Linked DNA regions of Homo sapiens: all the other regions are linked to region 2. Evidence: promoter capture Hi-C in 16 types of primary human blood cells and fetal thymus (Javierre and others, 2016). All regions are on one chromosome and are shown on one strand. The core of a region is centred on a gene start or on the middle of the fragment in contact, and the rest is flanking DNA. Distances in the headings are between cores, read along the strand shown. Region 1 overlaps ADCY2 (adenylate cyclase 2). Region 2 holds the start of ADAMTS16 (ADAM metallopeptidase with thrombospondin type 1 motif 16). Region 3 overlaps ADCY2 (adenylate cyclase 2).

Region 1 (3,962 bases), core at 770-3,269, 2.7 Mb after region 2:
CAATTAATTTGACATTTAGTATTAACTATCGCAATGGGAGAATGACCTCTTCTATTATCAAACTTATATAGACCAAAATCATATTGCCCTGCACTGCAGCATGGGACCAGAACGGCTATTTGCCAGTCATATGTGCTACCTCCAACGTGCCATTTTCCTGGTCTAGACTTCAGTGATATTGTTCAGATTCACGCGAACTGTTGAATGGACCTCCTTCCAGTGGTGTTTATTGACATTAAATGTCTACTTTACCCTGATTGTCCAATAACTGATAAAGTCTATACCCTCAACCCCATATATCAGCCTTGTTAGATTTCTAAGGAAGCCTGAACTCAACGTTTCACTTGGCCTTTGATTCTCCCTTTCCCCCGACCCTCTGTCTCTCCCAGGAGGGGACTTCCCTGCTTGACCTCCATGCACTGTGACATCCAGAGGTAGTTCAGGGATAGCAAAGTGGAAGAATAATATTGCCAACAAAAGCGATGGGACAAATAATGAGGTGAATTCACTCCTAGCATCCTTTTCAGCATATCTAGCTGTAGAATCAGTTGGAACCACAAATCAAGCACACTCCTACACTAACTAGAGATGGCCATGTTGCCAGCAATAATCAGTCCAGGCTCTTCCCCACCCCCAGAGCTGCTGACCAAGCAGGGATGAGCAGTGGCCAGAAGAAAAGCTGAGCTGACAGATGCAAGGCTGGAACCGCAGGCCAGTGTCCAGCGGCTGACCCCTGGGTGCTCTGACCTGTGCCAGAGCTGGAATAAATTATTTGAGATGCCTAAACCAGAAGTGTGTTTTCCTGAGTATGCCACAAAATCAAAGGAGAATTTATTTCTTACCTCTTCTGTACCTGCAAAGGTACTGCTTGGAACAGTATTGGGGCTGTTTCCTGACCTAACTTTCCATTGCAAAGGGGAAGCTTTGGCCTGGCGCGGTGGCTCACTCCTGTAATCCCAGCACTTTGGGAGGCCAAGACAGGTGAATCTCCTGAGCTCAGGAGTTTGAGACCAGTCTGGGCAACATGGCAAAACTCTGTCTCTACCAAAAATACAAAAAATTAGCCAGGTGTGGTGGTGTGTTCCTGTAGCCCCAGCTACTTGGGAGGCTGAGGTGGCAGGATCGCTTGAGCCTGGGAGGTGAAGGTTGCAGTCAGCCAAGATTGCGCCACTGCACTCCAGCCTGGGTGACAGAATAAGACCCCATCTCAAAAAATAAAAAAAATAAAAAGACAATGGTTATAAGATGAATCTTGCTAACTCAACTCTGATGTGGCACAGGTATTAACCATGGACCTGTGATAGCTGGTGTGATTGGAGCTCAGAAGCCACAATATGATATCTGGGGCAACACTGTCAATGTGGCCAGTAGGATGGACAGCACCGGAGTCCTGGACAAAATACAGGTAATGCAGAGTGTGGTCTGCGCTGCCTGCATCAACCATGTCTGTTCTCTTGGGAACCATAAATAAGTATAATAAGGATACTAATATATTAAAACAAAGGAAAAAAGTAAACCTTGAAATTTACTTATCTTTTGGAGAACAATTTTTGGGGAAATGTCAGTTTCTGTATTGACTGTTAACAACAACAACAAAATTCTAACAATATAAAGGCTATTATATTTGTGAAAACAAATGATCCAGCAGCAACCAGCATGATGGCACAACAGCCCTGAGCATTCAGTACAGGAGAACCTTTATTACTTCTCCTGGTGCTAATACCTTAAAAAGGACTTTGCAAACGAGAGGGATCACATGCAACCAAAACCAGACACAACCCCTCACCTTCTTCTCTCAAGCTGAATTGGGAGGAGGGGAAGTGGTAGGCTTCGGAGAGGTGGGAGATGAAACAGAAGGTTGATATGAATGGCAGCTCTGGAATCCACCCAAGAGGGAGAAAGGAAGGTGTAACAAATGAAAAGCAGTGGTTGGAGAAAACTAAAATTATTTTATGTGACTATTCCCATTGCTCATTAAATCAATTATAATCGTGGTTAAAGTAACTATATTACAATAGCACTAATAATATTGTATTTTTAAAAGTATTTTAAAATCACTGAAAAGATAATAGAAAAAAAATCTGTTATTAGAACTATGCTGAAACTATCCCCCCAGTTACAAAAGAGCAGTGGTTCTGCCCAGGTTGACAGTGACAGAATCAAGGAAGAGCGGGAAGAGAAACAAGGGAGGCTACGAAGATGGCAGCTTGGTCAAGCCTGTTCTTCAATAATTCCGCACCCACGTCCTGTGCTCCTCCCACGTGCTGACTAGATGCTGTGGCTACAGCATGAGCAAGTCAAACTCAACTTTGCCCTTGTACAGCGAATGTTCTCTTGGAGATGACCGTTAGCCACCAGAAGTCACAGTGGTGCCACTGCAAGTGTGACTGTGCTGGAGGACTTCAGCTGGCCTGTGTGGCTGGGGAAGGCTCTGGAGAACTCGATTTTCAGACGACAGGCTGTGTGAGTAAGAAAGGTGTGGAACTGGAGACAGTGTGTGAAGACCACCTTTTCAGATGTGAAGTGAGCTGATGGAGCAGAAGGGGAAGGGAGTTCAAGGCTGCGTTCAAGAATTATCCTGAACAGGGGCAATGCTCACAGGAAGAACGGAGTGAGGGGACCAGTGAAAATAAAGGTGGTTTGAGGTTCCCCCGGTGAAGGAAGGAGATTGGAACAGTGTGTGGTTGGAGAGTGGGCTCACAGCTCAGTAGCAACATCTGCAGCATTAACGGAGAAAAGTGAAGAAGGAAGGGTGCAAGAGTGGAAACAGGAAGCTACAGTTCATTCCAGTATTCGGAAGAAAGAAGGGGATCTCAGCTAAGAAAAGAATAAGAAGAAGATAAAGAGGTGCATGTCATTACATTTTAAATCTACCATTATACTCTTGGATAATATATGTAGAATGGTAAACATGTTCACAAGGTTTAGATGTAACTTTAAATATATTTATAGCAAAAGCCATTTTGTATCATGGTTTGGAAATTTTGCTTAAACTGTGGTTAGAGATTATCTTTTTAATTTTCATCATTGAACCCACACCCAAATCCACTTAATATATTTTGGTTAATACTAGAATTTCATTCAATTTTACCATTATTACACCAAGAAGCTATCCTGAAGCTTGCTATCATAATGACAAAATGACACGCCAGTGTAATATCTGTCCCCCTCAGAGGCACAAACATCTAGCAACACAGAATGTGTTTCAGTGAAGAGCTTGGAGATACCAAGGTTTTATGGTCCTTCCTTGCCTTCTTCAAAATTCTGCTTCTATTAATAGCTAGAAATTAGTGAAATTCAATCTGCCTTCCAGTGAGCTCATCAGTGAGCTGATCATCAGCAGCTGGAACACATACACCTGATTGTACACAGTTCCAGACACCCAGAGAGAAGGGCTGGGATCTGCAAGTGAGAAGCGTGTGTGCATGTGTGTGTACATGCATGTGTGTGTGTGTGTGTGTCTGTGCTGAACACTCTATTTGTCTCACTCTCAGAAAGCAGTGGATTCACGTTTCACCCCCGTTATGTTACATTCTGGAAAATGAATTTCTGCTAAATGGAAAATTTATATGAAAGTCACCGGACTTGCACTATAGATTTATCATGGTGGTCCTCTGGGCTTTTGATAAATCCCTATAGTGTGTGTCTCAGCTTAGCCAAGACATGCGAATAGCCTTGCCTCCTAAAATTGACTGCACAGACTGGCACAGTCCTTTCCTCTTTAAAAGACTGTCCCCTCCATTGTTGTCAGAATGGGCTTTTTATTAAACCTCGACTTACCTGCCTTTCATATTTACCCCATCTCGTTCATTCCTTTGGTCTTTCTAAAGGATATCTTTAATTTTTGTATGGAATGGAGGAAACATTACTTCTAAGTATCTGCCTTCTTTTATTCAGATTGAGTCAACACTTGCTACAAAGTAAGTAAAAGTCCAACCAAGAGAAGGAAGAGATAAAAGAAA
Region 2 (3,891 bases), core at 182-2,681:
CCTCGTGATCCGCCCGCCTCGGCCTCCCAAAGTGCTGGGATTACAGGCGTGAGCCACCGCGCCCGGCCTACTGCTCACTCTTTGGGTCCACTCTGCTTTCATGAGCTGTAACACTCACCGTGAAGATCTGCAGCTTCACTCCTGAGCCCAGCGAGACCACGAGCCCACCGGGAAGAACGAACAACTCCAGAGGCTCTGCCTTAAGAGCTGTAACACTCACCGCCTAGGTCTGCAGCTTCAATCCTGAGCCAGCGAGACCACGAACCCACCAGAAGGAAGAAACTCCGAACACATCTGAACATCAGAAGTAACAAACTCCAGACGCACCACCTTAAGAGCTGTACCCACTCACCGCGAGGGTATGCGGCTTCATTCTTGAAGTCAGTGAGACCAAGAACCCACCAATTCCAGACACACTATGGGCTCACAGCGTGTACTCGCGCACACGCAGTCAGGTGTGGATGTACACCCGCGCACACCCAGGCACATGTACACCCGCGCGCTCACACACCCCATCCAGCTACAGCAGAATTCTGGCCAGGCTGTTGACCGCACACCTGCTGCCTCCTTGGCCACCCTGTCCACACAGTAGCCCGATCGACCCCCGTGGCGGCCGAGACCCAGGCCCATCCGCAGCCCTGAGACCTCCCTAGGGATTGCACCCAGCAGCCAGTCACCGGCCTCCGCGGCCTGGCCAGTTGAGGGTGGCCGTGACCGCGGGGCCAGGAGCGCCGCCACATCTCGGGGCAAATGGCGCGGGGGAAGAGTTTCCTCCTCAGCCTCCCCGTCTCCGATCGCTCCGCAAACTCCAGAGCGAGGCACGCGCCTTTAAAGGCAGGTCCGCGGCTCTCCCACGTCCTGGCGCCCGGTTTTCCGCACCCAGTGTCCCCACAGCTGTGCCCGGGCACAGAGGCGCGGCCAGACCGCACTCCGCGGGCTGCAGGTGTCCCGGCCTCTGGCGGCGCCGGTGCGGCCCGGAGGTGGGAGCCCGCGGAGCCACTGCAGTAGCTGGAGTCCCGCCGAGTCCCCAGCCCCAAGGCAGGGCAGGAGCGCGCACCGGCCGGAGGTCCATGCTGAGCATCGCCCGCGCCGGTGCCCGGCAGCCTCTCCAACTGTGTGGTCCCCGCGCGGGCAGAGAGGCACGGACTGCAGGCCGTGGGCAGCTCCATCTTCCCGCGTCCTCCTCCTCTGGCGCTGCCCGCTGTCTCCCGCCTTCCCTCTGCTCCCCGCTCGCCTCCGCCTCAGCGCCCCGCTGACCTCGCCTCCTCCCCTCTGCTCTTTGTCCCTGCACTCTCCCCTCCTCGGTCCTCTGACCCCCCCGCCCTCACCTCCTCCCCTCCTCTCTCCCCTGCCCGCCCCGCGCTCTCCCACCGCTCCCGCCGCCCCCGCCGCCGCGGCTGCCACTCCGCCCCCCGCGCCGCACGGAGCTTCAGTAATAACCCCGGCGCGGCGGCGGAGTCGCTGTGGGGAATCCTCCCGCGCTCTGCCTGGGTCGGGTCCTCCCTGCCCGCTCGCACGCTGCCGGCCGGGGACCCTCCGGTGGCCCCTAGCCCCTCGGAGCGCTCCTGGATGAAGCCCCGCGCGCGCGGATGGCGGGGCTTGGCGGCGCTGTGGATGCTGTTGGCGCAGGTGGCCGAGCAGGTGAGTCCCGGGCGCTCCCACCAGCGCGGAAACCGCGGGTCCGGACAGCTGGAGGCGAGTCCCCCGCGGCTCCTCTCCCGCGGACCCCGCCGTCTCACCGCGATGTCGCCGCTGTTTTCCGCAGGCACCTGCGTGCGCCATGGGACCCGCAGCGGCAGCGCCTGGGAGCCCGAGCGTCCCGCGTCCTCCTCCACCCGCGGAGCGGCCGGGCTGGATGGAAAAGGGCGGTAAGTCCGTGAGGTGGGGGCTTCTAATCCTTGCCATTTAGCAGCTCGTAATCTCCGTGCCGCTGGTTTATTAGGTGCTGTGAATGTTCACGACTCTGTGGAACCCTACTTTTAAGATGCTGTTGTGAACTTTTTTTTTTTTTAACTGTATGAGCGAGCCCCGATGAGTGGATTTCCACCAATATTTACATTTTATTCCCTGGCAAAACGGTTTGCCAGAGTTATTGATATAACATTAGGAAAAAGGTGAGGAAGTTCATTTTATTTTATTCTAAAGAGCTTAGGAAGAATCTAAAGCTATTAATGTATGCATCAAAGCCGTCATAAAGAGCAAATTACTTTCTTTTCCGTCCCCTTCTACATCCTCGGATCCTCCTTCCCGTCCCCAACCTTTCCTCCTTCTCCTCCTTTATAGATTAAAATATTCCTCTATCGTTGCTTATTCTCAGTGAAGGAGATAAAAGAAGCGCTTAGCATCTCAATACCAAAGTTAATGCTCCAACAATCAGGGCGTACTTCAAACATAATAGTGCCTGAAATGGCTAATCAGCTGATTGTGACACCATCAGCAACGTTCATATCCTGGGCCACAATTTGACATGAGGGCAAGTCTTATTCTTTTTCAATGCATGCTTTTACTTCTGCCACTTACAAGTGACATTTGGAAATTTGCTGTCTTATGGAAAGGGATCTCTGTGTCTTCATACTGCATCAGGTAAATGAGAACGCAGGTGTGTCGCACTGGTTGCTAGGTGGTTTTTTAACCTGAACCCATCCAATGACAGTTAATAAATATTATTTTGCATTGTTACCAACAATAAATTGCCGTATCAAATGTTAATATTAATTGACTTTTATAGGAAGAACTAGGTTTCATTCTCTCAATGTATTTCCAGAAGATCTAGAAAATTAAAGTTAACAATTCAGAATTTCTCAGTATAGTTATTTCAATTTGATAAAATAACATAAAGGCAAGCACTTAATATATGCATTAACTTTTGAAATTATTCCCTGCCAAATGAGTACACAAATAGTATATAAGGTGACCGGTGTCAGATTGACGCTCACCATAGTACCTTTTTGAGAACCACCAGGGGGCGCTAGGTGCAAATGATATAAAATGTTAAAAAAAATTGTCACAGTGAATTTACAAGAGAAAGTTAATTATCTGTCCATTTACAGACTATCCTCTTGTGGTTGTCCTTGTCCTTTTTAGGGTTTTGCTTACAATACTAAAAGTTAATTCTTACAATTTTAAAGGTTAATTCTAATTCACCTTTTTAAGTAAGATTTTTGTAAAAAAAAAAAAAAAAATTCTAGTTCCCTAAAACCATGAAAATTCCAGAGGGACTCAGGAGATTTCCACAATAGTTTATGGCATTTATGAAGTTTTATTTAAGATAAAACACATTATAGACACAGAAGAAAGAAGAAGAAAAGCCAGGGCTTCGTGCCTAAGTGTGCTTTTCTCCTAAAGTGATTCAATCTGCTTCAGCATCCTCTCTGGGAGTGGGGTGCCAGTGTGCTGCTCTGAACACCTGGCACCACAGTTGTTGTCACAACGTATCGTCTCCATGACAACCACTTATCTGGCTTGGTAAGAACCTGAAGGGGAAGAGGCAAACCCTTCTTAGTGAAGTTCTAGCCCAGTGGACACAGCACACACCCTCCTCCCCTACCTTCTATGCACTTTAGCTCCTTAATTATAAATGGCTAATGTGTGAGTCTGGACATCCACAACAAGCTTTTATGCCACCAGAGAAAAGATCCTCCTCAACAGTGTTGCCTGTTTCCCTCTGACCTGGAGCAGAAGAGCTAGAAGACACTTGGTGACTGCTGGGGTCAACTTACTGTTGCCTGTCTAGGTATCCATTAGACAAGTTGGTTCTGAAATAACTAATTGTAGCCATACATTTTGTTTAAAGTAGCGCATGACTCAAACTATTATTGCAAATCATTCTTGGTGGCTGAAGTAATTACAAAATAGCAAAGAGAACAAAGCTGGAGGTGTCACACACTACCT
Region 3 (4,078 bases), core at 369-2,868, 2.6 Mb after region 2:
CTTCTCAGCCACTCTGATATCTTTATAACTTTTCTGGATTTTTTTTTTCATTTTATTAAGTTCACTTAATATGAGCTTCTACTTCTCTTCAAGTGTCTCATCTTATTGTTAAAATGGAAACTAATGAAACTGTAAATGAAGTCTACTTTTATAATGATTAAGTTAAATTATGAAGAATTAATTTTAGAGTGAAAAATTTAGATTTAACTTAATTTGAGAGACTACCAGTTGTTTCCATTGCAAGTGGATCAAAACAAGGGAAGAAAAAAAAAAGGAAAGAGAGAGGGAAGGAAGAGAAGCTGGCTGATATTTTTGGTGGAGCATGTATGAACATTTTGTTTTTCTGAGGAAGATCTGCATGTACTGGATTAAGAACATTGGGATTCATCCCACGTTTTTCCTACCACACCCCACTGCTCGTTGTCCCCATCATCAATTCTATGATAGGATTTTCCTTTTTTTTTTTTTTTTTTTTCTGAGACACAGTCTTGCTCTGTCACTCAGGCTGGAGTACAGTAGTGCAATCTCAGCTCACTGCAACCTCTGCCTCCCGGGTTCAAGCAGTTTTCCTGCTTCAGCCTCCTTAGTAGCTGGGATTACAGGCACCCGCCACCACACCCAGCTTATTTTTGTCTTTTTAGTAGAGACAGGGTTTCACCATGTTGGCCAGGATAGTCTCAAACTCCTGACCTCATGATCTGCCCATCTCAGCCTCCCAAAGTGCTGGGATTACAGGCGTGAGCCACAGTGCCTGGCTAGGATTTTCCTATATATTTCTTCTTTTATTACATCTCCCACTGCATTTAGTATCAATCCCTTGTTTGTTAATGGATGAATGTGATATTCACATCCAAGTGCATTTCTAGAAGGTACACGGTGAGCTCACTGTAAGTAAGAGCCGATCATGGGGTTCAGTGAGATGATCAAGGAAGGGAGGAAACAGATGTGGTTGAAATTATGCCAGGAGTTAAACCAAAGATCAAAGAAAATGACTCCACTGACTGGGCTCACAGCAGGCATTTTCTCATTTTCAGTTGAATAGTATCTTCCAAATAAAGGCCAAAATATTTTTTGAGATGTTGTCATTTATAACATTTAATTAGGATGGTCGGAATTTTGATAAACATTTTTCCACCAGAGCCTTTAATACTTAATCAAAAACAGGATAAACTGAAGCCAATGATCATATCAAGAGCCAAGTTGTAATTTTTCTACAGAGCTACACACTGAATCAAGGGTCTCCATTTTTCTTAATCAGGTTCCTTCCATTTTAGAATCTTAGTCCTGTTTCTCCTCTTATCCCCATCATTGGTTTCTTCTGCTCCCCCCACCAGCTTGATCCTCCACTTCCTCTTTCATCCCTGTCATTGCAACTGTCACCTCTCTGTTCTCTTCTACTTTCTTGTCCTTGCCAGCAGCAATGCCTACCAATTTTTACACTTCAGAACAGGTTTACTTACCTTGTCACTGCTTGGTGACAAGGAAAGATACCGCCTGTCTCCCTGACCTCTGGAACAACACATTTGGCATAAGTTTTAAAACAATTGTGAGGGAGAACTTTGAGGTATGCATGGAAAATGCATGGGTGAATAATTGAACCAAGCGCATCCTGAACCTGTTGTGCCAAACCCATGTCTGCCAAACCCCCATGCGTCTAGTAAGTAGCTGCAAGTGCTGCCGATTCGTCATTTTGCCTGGCATGTCACACGAACAGAAAAAAATTCCTGCATATCTGCCCGGGTCTGTTTTAGTAAGTTACTAGCCTATGAGCAGAATATAACATATTCCTATTAGATTAGCATATTTGACAAGATTATCACCACGTATTTTTCTAAATCTTCAAACACAGTAACTTGTTTTAATTTTGTAATTTCAAAAATTTGTCTGTGTAATAACTAGCTAATATTTTACCTAATTGACAGTGATATGCAATCTTAGCTAGATGTACATTTTCCCCTGAAGTAATAAACTTTTTAAATGTTCTACTGTTAACATTTTCATTATCATATCTATTGATAATTTCTGTGTACAGAAATTATCATAATTTCACAAATATAAGAGCATTGATTTTAATAATTTTCTCTTAAAGGTACTAACTGTAGTCAATCTGGATGTGAATATATAAATACTGTCTTAATTTGTGAGAATCAAACCAAATGCCATTATCTAATGGAATCTGAGCTAGATGAGCATAATATTTCATTTGAAGCTCGGCTCTTCATATTGTATTATAGGTTGGTGCAAAAGTAGTTGCGGTTTAAAGGTAATGGCAAAAAACAAAACAAACAAACAAAAAAAACTCAGCTACTCAGGAGGCTGAGACAGGAGAATCGCTTGAACCTAGGAGGCGGAGGTTGCAGTGAGCAGAGATCGTGCCATTGAACTCCAGCCTGAGTGGTGAGAGAGCAAGACTCCGTCTCAGGAAAAAAAAAAAGAAAAAACAAAACAAAACAAAACAAAAAACCTTCTTCTACGGAACACAGATCTGACTGTGTTTTGTGATATTAGTATTATTAGAAGTAGCATGCATTAAACAATAATGATAACCATTCGTGGGTGGATGTTCTCTGGCTACCTGACCCTCTAAGATGCTGCATGTTCAGAGCATTAAGGGACATCTTGCTGCATGACAGATTTCCTGCCATCACCAACCCCTATCCAAACCTGCTCTTAAGTAGAAGCGTCAAGTACAGATCTGGTTCTTCTGTTGCCGGTGATCAGATGTCCTGCAGAGCTGGGCCGAGGGCGCCCCCTGCCGCCAGTCAGCAGTCCAGCTCTGGGCAGCCTGTGCGGCTGAGGGCAGCAGTGGCTCAAGCTCCCTGGTAGGTACTCAGAGAAATGAGACGAGGGCGCAGGAAAATCAGCCCAAGAAGTGAACCCGGAACCTGGTCCTGCGTCTCCCTCAGGGGGGCATGTGCGCTGTACACAAACATTGTTCATCTTTTCCTATCAGGAGCTGGAAGGAAGAAAAAAAAAAACATGGTGGAAAGGAGTAGAGAGGAGGAGATTTTGTTGTTGTTTACATAGATATAAAGGAAATAGGATTTTGGTCACTAAAATGTTTCTAAGAAACATTGTGTTTTCTTCATTGAAATAACAGGAAGAGCTAACACTTGTAAGTCCTGTTGCACGCACCTTCTCTAACTCGTTTAAACCTCTGCAAAGACAGAGGAGGCAGGTACTGTTATTATCCCCGTTTCAGAGAGGAAGAAACTGGGACCCCATTTCAGAGAGGATCATTAATTTGCGCAAGTTTCCCAGCAGTAGAGGTTTGAAGCTAGGCCATGGCTGATTCTTTAACCTTCTCAACTCCTCTCTCCTGTGTTTAGACGATCATTCAACTGTTGTATCAACATTGAACATACAGCAATGCTTAGGGCAACAATAATTTTAGGAACAATACAAAAATAAGATGTGAAAGAAGTAGAGAACTGAAAGCGCAGCCTATTTGTGCTGTTCAGGAATATTCTTTATTTGAATTTGAATTTCACTGATGTCACACCAGCTTTGTTTGCCAATAGGTTAACTTGGTAGTATCGATCAAAGGGCATAATTTATGTTATTCCTTCTTCTGAATTTCTTGAAATCATCACCTTGTTTTGTTTCCAAGACACATAGCCTTGGGACCACAGGCCCGTTAGTGTGAAGATAACAATGTCAATCCCTGGAGGACTTTTACTTCCTGCTTCTCATATCAGATAACGTATGCAAATTATGCCCACGCAGCATCTGCATAGGCAGAGTTGATGTCACCCACAGTTCAGTGGAACTCTGTGTACTGCTCCACACTCATACCTGGGAGAATATGGTGAGAATCCTTGGAAAGGTGGCCCTCAAGATGGGTGAGCTTATGCACTGAGACCCCATGGTGAATGGGGAGCAAATGCTGGCTGTCGTTCCCCAAAGATCTCAATTCCTTCTTGTATCAAAAAAGTTTCCCCAACCCCGATATGTATAGCCGCATATTCACAACAGCCAAGAGGTGAAGCAACTCAGTGTCCATTTTATGAATGGATAAAAAAAAGTATAGATCCATACAATGGAGTTTTATTCAAGCTTTAAAAAAGAAGGAAATCTT

What was found. The method cuts DNA at HindIII sites, captures the fragments that hold promoters and counts their contacts. A CHiCAGO score of 5 or more calls a contact.
Region 1: a fragment that was not itself captured here is called in contact with the fragment with the promoter of ADAMTS16 in region 2 in 2 of 17 cell types (naive B cells and total B cells); the score reaches 11.2 in naive B cells.
Region 3: a fragment that was not itself captured here is called in contact with the fragment with the promoter of ADAMTS16 in region 2 in 3 of 17 cell types (naive B cells, total B cells and naive CD8 T cells); the score reaches 19.0 in naive B cells.

What each region holds. Positions count from the first base shown.
Region 1 is chr5:7,819,285-7,823,246 of GRCh38, forward strand. ADCY2 (adenylate cyclase 2) reads left to right here. Exons shown (of 25, transcript NM_020546.3): 24 at 1,281-1,405. Among named protein-coding and RNA genes, the nearest start is that of CFAP90, 30 kb to the right of the region's middle. The HindIII fragment of the contact is 2,198 bases long and covers 921-3,118 here.
Region 2 is chr5:5,138,899-5,142,789 of GRCh38, forward strand. It overlaps ADAMTS16 (ADAM metallopeptidase with thrombospondin type 1 motif 16), which reads left to right and starts at 1,432. Exons shown (of 23, transcript NM_139056.4): 1 at 1,432-1,641; 2 at 1,766-1,868. The coding sequence starts at 1,570. ADAMTS16-DT (ADAMTS16 divergent transcript) reads right to left here and starts at 1,156. Exons shown (of 4, transcript NR_109915.1): 1 at 1,058-1,156. ADAMTS16-AS1 (ADAMTS16 antisense RNA 1) reads right to left here. Exons shown (of 2, transcript NR_198969.1): 2 at 3,240-3,473. RefSeq lists an enhancer at 638-1,204. The HindIII fragment of the contact is 3,896 bases long and covers 1-3,610 here.
Region 3 is chr5:7,752,440-7,756,517 of GRCh38, forward strand. The region is part of intron 15 of ADCY2 (adenylate cyclase 2); the gene reads left to right. Among named protein-coding and RNA genes, the nearest start is that of CFAP90, 97 kb to the right of the region's middle. The HindIII fragment of the contact is 4,872 bases long and covers 1-4,054 here.